Regions from separate parts of the Homo sapiens genome. Here regions 1 and 2 are each linked to region 3. The links are contacts of gene promoters, found by promoter capture Hi-C in blood cells and fetal thymus (Javierre and others, 2016). All regions are on one chromosome and are shown on one strand. The core of a region is centred on a gene start or on the middle of the fragment in contact, and the rest is flanking DNA. Distances in the headings are between cores, read along the strand shown.

The links. Contacts are between HindIII fragments. The CHiCAGO score rates a contact against its expected background, and 5 or more counts as called.
Region 1: a contact is called between a fragment that was not itself captured here and the fragment with the promoter of OR10H1 in region 3, in 1 of 17 cell types (M1 macrophages). The highest score is 5.0, in M1 macrophages.
Region 2: a contact is called between a fragment that was not itself captured here and the fragment with the promoter of OR10H1 in region 3, in 1 of 17 cell types (M1 macrophages). The highest score is 5.8, in M1 macrophages.

What each region holds. Positions count from the first base shown.
Region 1 is chr19:14,899,684-14,904,143 of GRCh38, forward strand. It overlaps the pseudogene OR7A3P. Among named protein-coding and RNA genes, the nearest start is that of OR7A17, 16 kb to the left of the region's middle. The HindIII fragment of the contact is 776 bases long and covers 1,675-2,450 here.
Region 2 is chr19:14,956,600-14,960,964 of GRCh38, forward strand. SLC1A6 (solute carrier family 1 member 6) reads right to left here. Exons shown (of 10, transcript NM_005071.3): 7 at 1-110. Among named protein-coding and RNA genes, the nearest start is that of OR7C2, 17 kb to the left of the region's middle. The HindIII fragment of the contact is 2,634 bases long and covers 494-3,127 here.
Region 3 is chr19:15,812,419-15,817,007 of GRCh38, forward strand. It overlaps OR10H1 (olfactory receptor family 10 subfamily H member 1), which reads right to left and starts at 3,246. Exons shown (of 4, transcript NM_013940.4): 1 at 3,137-3,246; 2 at 1-460. The HindIII fragment of the contact is 16,264 bases long and covers 1-4,589 here.

The DNA of each region.
Region 1 (4,460 bases), core at 813-3,312, 910 kb before region 3:
AGGTCAAATGTTGGACTCGGTAGCTCAGCTTTTGCATAATCGAGTTTACTTACGCGTAAGTCTTGAACACTTACGGAATGACAGGAAATGAAACTTCTAGAAGTTCCACTTACCTTATGAAGTTTAGGTGAGAAGGAGTAAGACTTCAAAGCCCATTGGAAGTTACTTGGCGCAGAGCAGGTGTTCAATGGATAGCAGATATTTGGACCATGTCCTAGTTTCCCAGTTACTCTGCTCATTGTGACACCAGAAAGGTTTCTTGCTACAGTCTAGCACTGTCCTGCTTTGAGGAGACAGCAAGTTGTGATCATGAAGGGAGACCTCCTTCCAGGGCCCTGCACAAGGAGGAGAGTGCCTGAGAGTCTATCATTCTATGCTTTGTTGACATAAAATCATTCATCATTGTCTCTGTCACCCTCATGCTGGCTCCAAATACTCACAGTAGATATGTCTGACTCTTTAACTATCTTCTACTTTTGAGAATATCTGTAAAGCTGATGTTTCTTAGTGTATCAAATTATCCACCTAATCTTCTAGGAGCTCCTCCAACTCTTCATGGAAATCTTATCTTCCTGGCTTCTAGGTGATAGCATGTAATTCATACATATTTAATGTATACTGAAGTATAAAATGCTTGCATGTCTGTTTTTCTCCCAGTAGATAATTATTTTCCACTTATTTATTAACTCTTAGATAATTAGACACCTCTTTCTGTATTTTTGTGTTGCCTTTCTATGTTGCCTTTAGGAGGATCAGTCTTCTCCACCTTTGGCTCTGGATTTTGATGATGCCTCAACTGGGAGAAGTGTAACACCTACGATGATTGAGACATTCTTTGTCTGATAGGATGTGAGTGGTCATGAGATGTTCAATCTGTGAGAAGAAGCTGTAAGAGGCATTGTGAGATGACACCACTTCTGTTGCTCTTCCTCTTTCAAATTGTCCTTGCTCTATTATTTAAAAGTCCAATAATAACAAATGCTGGTGAGAGTCTGGAGAAAAGGAAATACTTCCACACTGCTTTTGGGAATGTAGATTAGTTCAGCCATTGTGGAAAGCAGTTTCACAGTTCTCAAAGACCTTAAAACAGGATTACCACTTCACTCAGAAATTCTATTATTGGATATATACCCAAAGGAATGTAAATCATTCTACTATAAAGACATATGCATACATATGTTCATCACAGCACTATTCACAATAGCAAAGACATGGAATCAACCTGAATGTCCATCAATAGTAGACCGAATAAAGAAGATGTGGTACTATACAACATAGAATACTACAGAGTCATCAAAAAGAATGAGACTGTGTCCTTTGCAACAACGTGGTTGGAGCTGGAGGCCATAATTCTTAGCAAACTAACGTAGGAACAGAAAACCAAATACCACATATTCTCATTTACAAGTGGGAGCTAAATAATGAGAACACATGGACACAAAGAGGGGAACAACAGATACTGGGGCCTCCTTGAGTGTTGAGGGTGGTAGGAGGGTTAGGATAAAAAAAACTATGTATCAGGTATGCTTATTAAGCGGGTGACAAAATACTCTGTACACCAAACCCTCACAACAAACAGTTGGCTTATATAGCAAACCTGCACATGTACCCCTGAACCTAAAATAAAAGTTAAAAAAAGATTGTCCTTACTGCCCAACATTCAAGAGCTAATTAAGCTTGGATAGTCCTATGGCTGAATATTTTTGTCTTGTCCAGGATATATATGTCCTAATCCCCAATGAGAAAACTTCCACAATGTAGACTCTGATGTGATTTTTTAAAAGCATGACTTTAAATCATTTATTATTGGGATGTTTTGTTACACAACATTAGATTACTGATACAATAATCAAAGCAACATAACTAAAGATATTCAGAATTATCTTTTTTTAGGTGTCAGATCCTTTTGTTTTTTAGTTTTTTATTGGATTCACTGTATACAGAATATTCTGTTGGCTCTTTTTTTTTGGTGCTTTTTCTGATATCAGAAAGCAGTGTTCATAATTATATGGATATTTATATTTACTTCACATAACTGTATCATAGGATGACTACTTTTAGATTTCCTCTAGGTAACCAGAAGAGTTTGGCAGGACATGTATATTTTTGCTGAAACAAATTGCAACCTGGAATCTCAAGTCTCTAATCTCACATGCAATACTGGGAAGAAATTCAAGCTCTTATGTGAGTCATCATTAGAGAGTTTGGAGTATAAAAGAGATAAAGCAAGTGATGATACAGTAAATACACATATCCTTCACTTACCTCCAGTTTAATGCTTGTGACATAATTTATTAAAGGGAGTGATAGTTTTAGAACAATGCAAGAAGTCATATTTGTAGCACTGGAAACTTTTAATCAGAAACAGAAAGATGATGCAATCAAATAATGTAGATCATGACACCAAATCCTTTACCTAAATGAACAAACCTCATTACCCATGGACAACAAGCTTCCACCCTTTAATGAGTTGTATTAGTCCGTTTTCACACTGCTGATAAAGACATACCCAAGACTGGGTAATTTATAAAGAAAAAGAAGTTTAATGGACTCACAGTTCCACGTGGCTGGGGAGGCCTCACAATCACAGCAGAAGGCCAAAGGCATGTCTTGCATGGCGGCGGGCAAGAGAGCATATGCAGGGGAACTCCCCTTTATAAAACCATCAGATCTCATGAGACTTATTCACTGCCATGTGAACAGCATGGGAAAGACCTGCCCCAATGATTCAATTACCTCCCACCGGGTCCCTCCCATGACACAAGGAAATTATGGGAGCTACAATCAAGGTGAGATTTGGGTGGAGACACAGACAAACCATATCACACACCATCAAAAACAAATCTTCCACGATAATCACTGCATGACTGAAAATTTTAGTCCATCATATTTAAGGTCGTCTCTGAATCTGAGGCCATATGAAGTCAATTGATTCATGCAAATGTGTCTTTCTGTGTAGACTACACTAGGAACATGTATGTTATAAGTAATATTCGCCTTCCTCCTCTTTACCAGGGAATATAGTAGGCAGTGTAGACACTGAGCTGGATAGCAGACAGGATCCTAATGAGGAGAATAAAATGCCATGATGATTATAAACACACCAGCATGGTCAAGTTTACATAATCAGGAAGAACAGTAAAGGTAGTAAGAAATGAAGGACTCAGAAGTAAAAAACTGTGATCTCAGATATTCATCTATAATATGATTATACCAATGACCTTACATTTGCCAAGTGCAATTGATTTTTTAGGACTGATACAACTCTCTAGTGTATTAGACAAATAGGAATCTCCAAAAGTGTTTTACCCTAGTTTGGAAATAACTATGGGAAATTAGGAAAATGACAAACAAAAAGTAAGTTGGATATCAGAGCAGAAAGCTTTCTAAAGAAATAGCATAAGTCTGACACAGCACTTGAGAACAAGGAAATTAAAACTCTAGAAACTGAATAGAAGCAGAACATTCTCTTTCCCTCCTTCCATGATCTGATTCGTGAATCACAATGTTTGAGTTCGGTTAGAGCTTTGAAATCACATGTACTTCTTGAAAGATGCTCATTTTATTTCTTCCTTCTGAAGAATTGTTTTAGAGCCCCCTTTATGTCTTTATTCCTCAGACTGTAGATGAAGGGGTTCAGCATGGGGGTGACCACAGTGTACATCAGAGGCTGTTGCACTTGAGAGTGAGTTGTGGGTTGCAGCAGCACTAAGGTACACCCCAAGGCTCATACAATAAAATAAGGAGACAACTGAGAGGTGCGATGCACAGGTGGAAAATGCCTTGTACTTCCCCTGAGCTGATGAGATTGCACGTATGGAGGAAACTGTCTTAAAGTAAGAGTACAGGATCCCAGTGAAACATCCCCTACCTAGAAGCACAGCTGACAAATACATCACCATGTCATTAAGAAAGGTGTCAGAACAGGCACTGCGGATTATCTGATTAAGTTCACAGAAAAAGTGGGGGATTTTCAAGTCTGTACAAAAGAGCAGTGGCAACACCATTAAGCTTTCTATCAAGGAATTCAGGGCACTCATGATCCAGGACGCCAGAACCAGCAGTCCACAGAGCCGAGGGTTCACGATGACCGTGTAGTGCAGGGGGTGACAGATGGCCACAAACTGGTCATAGGCCATCACGGTCAAGAGTAAGCTGTCCAACACTATAAAGAGTACAAAAAAGTACATCTGGGTGATGCAACCTGCATAGGTGATGACTTTACTCTGTGTCCGGATGTTTGACAGTGTCTTTGGGACTGTGGTGGAGGTAACACAGATGTCTACAAAGGACAGGTTAGAGAGGAAGAAGTACATGGGGGTGTGGAGGTGGGAACCAGAGCAGATGGCCAGGATGATGAGCAGGTTTCCAAACACAGTTGTCAGATACATGGAGAGGAAGAGTCCAAACATAACGGGCTGCAATTCTGGTTCCTCTGAAAGTCCCAGAAGAAGAAATCC
Region 2 (4,365 bases), core at 561-3,060, 860 kb before region 3:
CCACGATGACGGTCAGGGTGTACATGCCCAGCTGACCCCCCAGGACGGCCATGTCTTCCATCTCCAGAATCTTCCCAGCAATCAGGAACAGGATGCCCACAGGTGCATACCTGTGTGAGGGAGCCACATACCTGTCAGGGCTCCCTCCTGACCTCCCTTGCAGGTCTGAAGGTGGCATCCCCAAGGCTTTGCCCATATAGGGCCCTGGAGCCACACAATACCCATGATACGGCACCCTACTCCATCCCAGTCTTCCCCGTACACTAATGAATGCCACCGGGCCCCATGAATGAAGCCCACCTCCTCCTCCTCCTGCTCTTCCACATCTCCCCACCATGGTAGAAAAGTTCCTACAACTCCAGGATATACAAGCTTTCAGGTCTCTCCTGTACCTACTCCCCATTCAAGCTCTCTCAATCCTGCCCCAAATAATCACTACCTTCAGTTTCCTTCCTTAGACATTGCCAAGACATTCCCTGTCTCTGGCCTTCTAAGCTTCCCTTATCTTCTGCCCCCAACTGTTTGTTCCACATTTGAAATGTGTATGCCCCTATTCTCTTCCCTATCAGTGCCTGTTATCACTCATTCACCAGCCTAAGCATTTCCCTCTCAAACCACTTGTCCTATCAAAATCACCGATGTATTCATTCATTCCACAGATATTGACTGAGTACCTACTGAGTACCAGGCACATGGCTCTCGTCCTCAAAGCACTTACATTCTGTTATGGACTAAATGTTTATGTCCCCTCCCCACTCCAACCAAATTCATATCTTGAGATCCTAACCCCCAATGGGATAGTATTGGGAGGTGATTAGGTCATGAGGGTAGAGCCATCATGAATGGAATTAGTGCCCATATAAAAGACACACCAGAGAGCTCCCTCCACCCTTCTGTCATTCGAAGACACAGCAAGAAGACGCCTTCCATGAACCAGAAGACAGCCCTCACCAGACATGGAATCTGTGGGTGCCTTGAACTTAGACTTCCCACCCTCCAGAGCTGTGCGAAATACATTTTTGTTCTTTAAGCCACAATGTCTATGGTATTTTTGTTACAGCAGCTGACATGAACTAAGACACATTCTAATGGGGAAAGCAGGAGGTACACATAGAAATGCACTAATTGCAAACTTCAAGTGGTGATAACAGCAAAGGAGAGTCACTGGATGGGACTGCTTCTGAGCAGATGGTCAGAGAGGGCTTTTCTGAAGAGGTGACATTTAAGCTGAGACTTGCATGATGAGAAGGTACCCTGTGTATCTGGAAGAAATCATTGCAGGCACAATGCAGACTCTGAGATGGGCATGCACTAGGAGTGCTGGAGGACCAGAGAGAAGACCAATGTGGCTGGAGTATTGAGTAAAAAGGAGAATAGAGAAGATGAAAGAAGCAAGTTCATCAGGGGCTCACCTGTTTCCCCCCATAATCCAGCCCACGGGTCAATCGAGTGAGTTTCTGCCATTGGCACCATCATCTCATTTCGAGGCTTCAATGGCTACTCCTCTTTCTTTAGAAATTGAAGTTTATGGCTGGGCATGGTGGCTCATGCCTGTAATCCCAGCACTTTGGGAGGCCGAGGAGGGCAGATCACTTGAGGTCAGGAGTTCGAGACCAGCCTGGCCAACATGGTGAAATCCCATCTCTATTAAAAATAAAAAAATTAGTCAGGTGTGGTAGTGCACACCTGTAGTCCCAGCTACTCGGGAGGCTGAGGCAGAAGAATCACTTGAACCCAGGAGGCAGAGGTTGCAGTGAGCTGAGATCACATCACTGCACTCCAGCTTGGGCGACAGAGCCAGACTGCATCTCAAAAAAAAAAAAAAATTTGAAATCTACTTTGGCTCACATTCATCGTGGATGTGTTGGAGGAGGTGGGGACCTCTTGGGAAGGTGGTACAATAGCTTGAGTCAAAAATGAGGATGCACGGGGCTTCTCCAGTCACATCTGTGTTCTCCAAACTGGGCTCAGAGTTAGCCCTGGGGAGTAGTTGCTGAGTCTTCTCCAAGTCAACATGACTAGATCCACCTCTATGCTTACTCTGAGTAATCCCTCTCTCAACTTCCTCACCTCCATCCTTCCACCTCATCCCCTGCAAAATTCCTCAGCCCAAGATTAATTGTGCATGATTTCTTACCCCCTACACTCAGCCACCTGGCACATCTGGACATTTCACCCAATCATGCCAATGACACTGCTATAAATTCATTGTTCCCAATTCAGCTGAGCCTTCATTATTCCTTGTTAACTCTCTGCTTATCCTTAATAAGCTCCCCACTCCCATTCCTTTCAGATGCTTTTCCAGGCCCTCAACTTGGCCTCAAGTTCCTTATATGAAGAAAGTAAAAGTTCGTCTTCAAAGTTTCCCTTCTTGTTAAAGAATAAATCTTAAGTGTTAAAAATAGTTTCTTTTAAAGACTAACTTCCTTCAAGCCTCCTTACTTTATGCTAATAACTCTTTGTTAAGCCCTATCCTATGTAGGTGTTAGACACGCTCACAGGCACATAGTACATTCTACGTCCTTGTACTTTAACCAAGATATCTGTGCTGGATGTGCTCACAGGCATGTCCCAGCTTGCAGCCTATACCCCTTCCTTATTTGGGAATGTTATTACTTTTCTAAGTCCTTTTGTAAGCAACTTCCTCTTTTCCTCTGTTTTCCATTGCTTTTACCTATTTAGAAAAGTTTTAAATTATTAGCCAGTCGGGATTTAGTTTAGATTGTAAAGTCTGGCTCCAGCCAATGGAGACAGACACAGTAGCAGGGACAAACTGCATAAGGGATAAAAATTGCTTCTTCCCTCCTTTGTTCAGGTGTGCTCTTGCCATTGTTCCATCTGTGATGAACACCCTTTCTGCAGAAGTAAAAATTGCCTTGCTGAGATAATTAAATTTATGTTTGAGTGCTATTTCTTTATGGCACTGGGGAACAAGCATTCTGTTTCTAAATAAACATTTTACATATGACACTATACAACTTTCCAATTGTTTGGGATGATGTACAAAGTCTTCTCCCATTTGGGATCTGACAGCCTTGTTAATATCTTCCACCACCACTCCCAACTTACCCCATGCTCTCACCTTCCTGAATGCCCCACCATTCTCCAAACAACTTAGGTACCTTCAAGCTTTGCATGTTCTCTTCTCTCTGCCTGAAATACGTCTCCCCTCTCACTGTCCAGTTGAAGTCCTACTCACCTGTCAAGACGCAGTTAACAGGTGACCTTCTTCATGACTCCCTCTTCAGGAAGCATTCACTGCGTACCCCTCTACTCACTGCTTCCTTCTCCAAGTTCCCAACATTTTTTAAATGTTCCTTTACTACAGAACCTACCACCTTGTGTTATATTGATCTACAATGTGTCTGTCTCCCCTAAGATTTTGTGAGCTTGTTGAGGACAAGGTATGAGTGCACTGTATCTCTGTACTCCAGAGGTCAAGACAAAGTCTGCCTGGGAAAATGCCTGCTGAGTGAATAAAGATATTTCTGAAGTAATAAAGGAATCTAGAGAAGGAATGATGGAAGGAAGGAAGGAAGGAAGGGATTAACAACTGGATGAATAAGTAAGGAAATAAGCAAATGAAACAAGTTAGTAGCTGAGTGAACAAATACGTGAACAAATGAGTGAATGAAGAGAATACTTGAATAAATGAATGAAAGAATAACAAATGCATAGATGAATGAGTGAGTCCAAGAATGAATTAGAATGAATAAATGACTTAACTGAGTAAATAAACAGATGAATCCATCAATGATTTAACTAATGCATGGATGAGTTTGTAAATAAATTTACGAGTGAATGAATACATGAGTGAGTTAACTGATGCATGGAAGAATGAATAGATGAATAAGAAAATGAATGAACCGATAGAAAAATGAGAATGAATAAGTGAATAAATTGGTGAATGAAGAGATACATGGGGAAGTAAATGGGTGAATAAATCACTGCAGAAAGGTATGAATGAATGAATAGTAACTAACCAATGCATAGGAGATGAATAAATCCCTGTCACTTGTGACAACACAGATGAACCTGGAGGACATTATGCTAATTGAAATAACCAAGACACAGAAAGACAAATACCACATGATCTCACTTATCTGTGGAATCTAAACAATCAAACTCACAGAAGCAGGGAGTAAAATGGTGGTTACCAGGGACTCGCAGGAAAGGGAGATTGGGGAGATGTTGATCAAGGGTACAAAATTTCAGTTAAATAGGAGAAATAAGTTCAAGAGATCTATTGGACAACATGGTAGGTATAGTTAAAAACAATGTATTGTGTACTTGCAAATCACAAAGAGAGTAGATTTTAAGTGGTCTCTCCCTTTTTTTTTTTTTTTGAGACTGGGTCTCATTCTG
Region 3 (4,589 bases), core at 1,996-4,495:
AGAAAGAGAGGGAGGGAGGGAGGAAGGAAAGAAGGATAAAAGGAAGGAAGGATGGGGACTGCAGGAGGAAGGAAGGAGGGAGGGAGGGAAGGAGGAAGGAAGGAACGAAGGAAGGAAGGAAGGAGAGTGAGGGAGGAAAGGAGGAGAGTGAGGAAGGAAGAAAGGAGGGAGGGAGGCAGGAAGGAAGGAGAGTGAGGGAGGAAAGAAGGAGAGTGAGGAAGGAAGGAAGAAAGGGAGGGAGGGAGGCAGGAAGGAAGGAAGGAGAGTGAGGGAGGAAAGAAGGAGAGTGAGATAGGAAGAAACGAGGGAGGGAGGAATGGAGGGAGGAAGGAAGGGAGGGAGGGAGAAACCTTGAGAGGACAGGAGCCGATCACGTCTGTAGGAGGTAGCTGAGGGCTGCATGTAACACCGTCTGGAATGATGGGATGCAGAATGCAGCTAAAAGGGTAGTCCAGTCATTCTGGAAAAATCAAAACCATGGAGACAGCAAAAGATCAGTGGCTTCCAGGGGACCAGTGGGTGAGAGGGAGGGATGAATGGGTGGGGCACAGAGGGTTTTTAAGACAGTGTAACTATGTTGTGTGATACTGTCATGGTAGATACAGGACATTGTGCATTTGTCAAAACCCAGAGAATGTACAGCCCCAAGAGTGAACTCTAATGTAACTGTGGATTTCAGTCAATGACAATGTGTCAACACTGGTTCATCAGTTGTAACAGATTAATGGTAAAAAAAAAAAAAAATCCCAGTTGCTAATTATAGGGGAAATTGTGTGCAGGCGGAGAGAGGGTATATGGAGATTCTCTGCAGTATCTATCTGCTCTATGTTCTGTAAATCTGAAACTGCTCTTAAAATAAAGTCTATTAATTTTAAAAAGTAAAACAAAACCAAACCCATGGTGGATGTGGGACTAGGATAGCAGCGAGGAGGATTTAGAGCTTCTGGGCATTGATTCACCAGCAGAACATCCAGTGGGTTCCTCTGTAGGTAAAACAGAGAGAGAGAAAGGTAGGAAGAGAAAGAGAGAGATGGGGATAGAGAGAGAGGCAGGGGAAGAGAGAGAGAGAGAGAGAGAGAGAGGAGGCGAGGGAGAAACAGAGAGAGAGAGGTGGGGAGAGAAAGAAAGAGAGGTGGGGAGAGAGAAAGAGAGAGACAGAGAGGTGGAGACACAGAGAGATGTGGGGAAAGAGCACACACAGAGAGAGAGAGAGATGGAGGGAGAGAGAGAAGTGGGGAGATAGAGAGTGGGAGGTGGGGGGAGAGAGAGAGAGAAGGACAGGGAGAAAGACACAGAGAGAGGTGGGGAGAGAGAAGTGGGGAGAGAGACACAGAGAGTGTGGGAGGTGGGGAGAGAGAGGGTTGGGGAAAGAGAGAGAGAGACAGAGAGAAGGGTGGGGAGAGAGAGAGAAGTGGAGAGAGAGGGAGGTGGGAAGAGAAACAGAGAGAGGAAAGAGAGGTAGGGAGAAAGAGAGGACAGAGGGGAAAGAGAAGAAAAAGGTGAGAAGAAAGAGAGAGAGCAAGCAAGCCCACTGTCTAGCACTGACAGGAACACCCGGTGGGGCCAGTTCTCCACTCAGAGACTCTAGGGCTAAGCGTGGCTGTGGACAAGTCCTGCCACAGACATCCCTAGAGCAGGGTTTCCTGCCTTCAGCATTAGGGACGCTAGGGGCGAATCATTCTCTCTCAGAGGGGTGTCCTGTGCACTGCAGGAGACTGAGCAGCATTCTTGGTCTCCACCCACCAGATAGATACCAGCAGCACTCCCCAGTCACGACAATCAGAAATGTCCTTATACGTTGTCACGTGTCTCCTGGGTGACAGCATCACTCCATGGGCCAGGCCTGTCTTGTCTCTGAGACCCCATCTGGCCTTAACTCTCACCCATCCTGGCTCTCTCTTCTTAGTGAAGCTGTCTGGCCTCCCCTCTCTTCCACTTAAGCCACCACTTCCCTCTCTTTTCTCTCCATCTTCTCATCCCCAGCTCCTAACCATTCCCTCACCACCTGCTCCCATTGACGCCTCCCTTGTGTGTGTGTGTGTGTGTGTGTGTGTGTGTGTGTGAGAGAGAGAGAGAGAGAGAGAGAGAGAGAGAGAGAGAGAGAGAGAGAGAGAGACAGGGTATCCCTCTGTCACCCAGGCTGGAGTGCAGAGGCACAATCACAGCTCACTGCAGCCTTAACTTCCTGGGCTCAAGCAATCCTCCCACCTCAATCTCTGGAGTAGCTACAGGTGCCTGCCATTCCTGGCCAATTTTTGTATTTTTTTGTACAGACAGGGTCTCACTATGCTGCCCAGGCTGGCCTCAAACTCTTGGACTCAAGTGATCCTCCCACCTTGGCCTCCCAAAGTGCTGGGATTGCAGGCATGAGCCACTGCACCCGGCCCACCCTGATTCTTTACACCCTGGGGTGGTGGCTGGAGCTTCTGAACCCTGAATCCTCTTTCTCTCTTTTCTCCGCCTCTTCCCAATCCTTTTTCCGTAGACTTCTTGCCTGGACAGACCGAGAAGAGAGGTTAAAATCAAACCATCACCTTGGGTCACATTGAGCATTGGCTGTCTTCTCTCTGCACCTGTTACCTCCCCCATCCAAGGGACCTACCTCATGAGGCAGCAGGAGCTCTAAAGAAGGCAAGTCCTGGCTGGGCACGATGGCTCATGCCTGTAATCCCAGTACTTTGGGAAGCCGAGGCGGGTGGATCACGAGATCAGGAGTTCAAGACCAGCCTGTCCAGCATGGTGAAACCCCTGTCTCTACTAAAAATACAAAAAATTAGCCAGGCATGGTGGCACGCACCTGTAGTCCCAGCTACTCAGGAGGCTGAGGGAGAAGAATCGCTTGAACCTGGCAGGCGGAGGTTGCAGTGAGCCGAGATTGCGCCACTGCACTCCAGCCTGGGCTACAGAGCGAGATTCCGTCTCAAAAAAAAAAAAAAAAAAATAGAAGAAGGTAAGTCCTGCTAAGCAAACAGCACACTGACTAAGACGTGGTGAGTGGCCTCTGCCTGTCACCCACTGCCCTGTAGACTCACATTGCTAAAGGAGTAATATAAACAGGTGGTTTCTTGGAGTCCCTGGCAGGTGCTGGTTCCCCAGGTCTCTCCTGGTCAGGTGGCTGAGAGGGGAGGTGACTCACCTGGGACTCCAGGCATCTGCTTCTGCTTCATCCCAGTAGGAGGCTCTAGTTTGGAGTTTCTCCACAGGTGGGAGCTGACCAGGTGTGGGCTGCACCAAGCAGCCACACCAGCTGAGCCGGGGGCTTGACTGAGCCCAAATGCGATTATTTATCCCTCCCTGACTCCCTGCCCACCGGCTTCCCTCGCTGTGGTCCTACTGTCTCTGTCTCCGCTACAGGGATGCTGGGACCCCAGGGACCCTGCCAGAGAGGAGGCAACCTCAGGGAATCTGTATCCTCACTTTCCCATTCCCCCCGCCTGCCAGGGGTGAGTCAATTCCCTGAGCTTGTCAAGAGCTTGAGCAGAGTCTAGTGCTCTACAGATTTGGGGTTTGGGCCCATGACTGTTGAAATTGACAGGAGGGCAGCCCTGCCATTGCCCCCAGGGACTGCAGAGGCTGCCTTGATATGCCCCGTCACCTTCATTCTTCTCCAACTGGGTCATTTGCCCAACTAAATGTCCTTTAAAATAATTTTTTAAAACCAACACACACACACGTATTTGTTTTTATTTTTATTTTTTGAGACAGGGTCTAGCTCTGTTGCCCAGGCTGGAGTGCAGTGGTGTGATTATGGCTCACTGCAGCCTCAACCTCCCAGGCTCAAATGATTCTCCTGCCTCAGCCTCCTGAGCAGCTGGGAGTAAAGGTGCTTGCCACCACACCTGGGCTAAGTTTTAATTTTTCTGTAGAGATGGGGTCTCGCTTTGTTGCCCAGGCTGGTCTTGAGCTCCTTGGCTCAAGGGATCCTCCCACCTTGACCTCTCAAAGTGCTGGGATTACAGCTGTGAGCCACCATGCCTGGCCTGTTTCTTCTTATTATGTAATTGAAATGCTACATACAAAGCAGCAAACCATGCAATGGCCAGCCAGGCAATCGTGACGGTGAATTTAATGGGTATCCCTTCAGATCTTCATGAGCATGTAGGATGTGAAAACAATGCAAACCCATAAAATCAGAGTTCTGTTGTGCATTATTGTTGCTTTCGCTTCGTTCTGCTTTTGAGGTGAAATTCACATAAAATAATCAACCACTTTAAAGTATACAATTCCCTGGGATTGAATGCATTCACAATGTTGTGTGGCCGCCGCCTCTGTCTAGTTCCAAAATGTTTTCATCACCTAATACCCATTAGCAGCCACTCCCCTACCCCACCCAGTCCTTCAAAACCACCAATTTGTTTTCTGGCTCTGGCTCTATGGACTTACCTATTCTAGACATTTCATATAAATGGGACTATATACTACTATATATAACGATGCATTATGATTGCCCCTGTGAGTAGCCACGGCACTCCAGCCATTTTGTCAACACAAAAATGTCGACATTGCCAAGACTGAGAAACTTTGGTCTGCATAAACTCACACAGAGTTCACTCTAAGACGCTGAGTGAAAAACCAAGTTACGGAAAGAT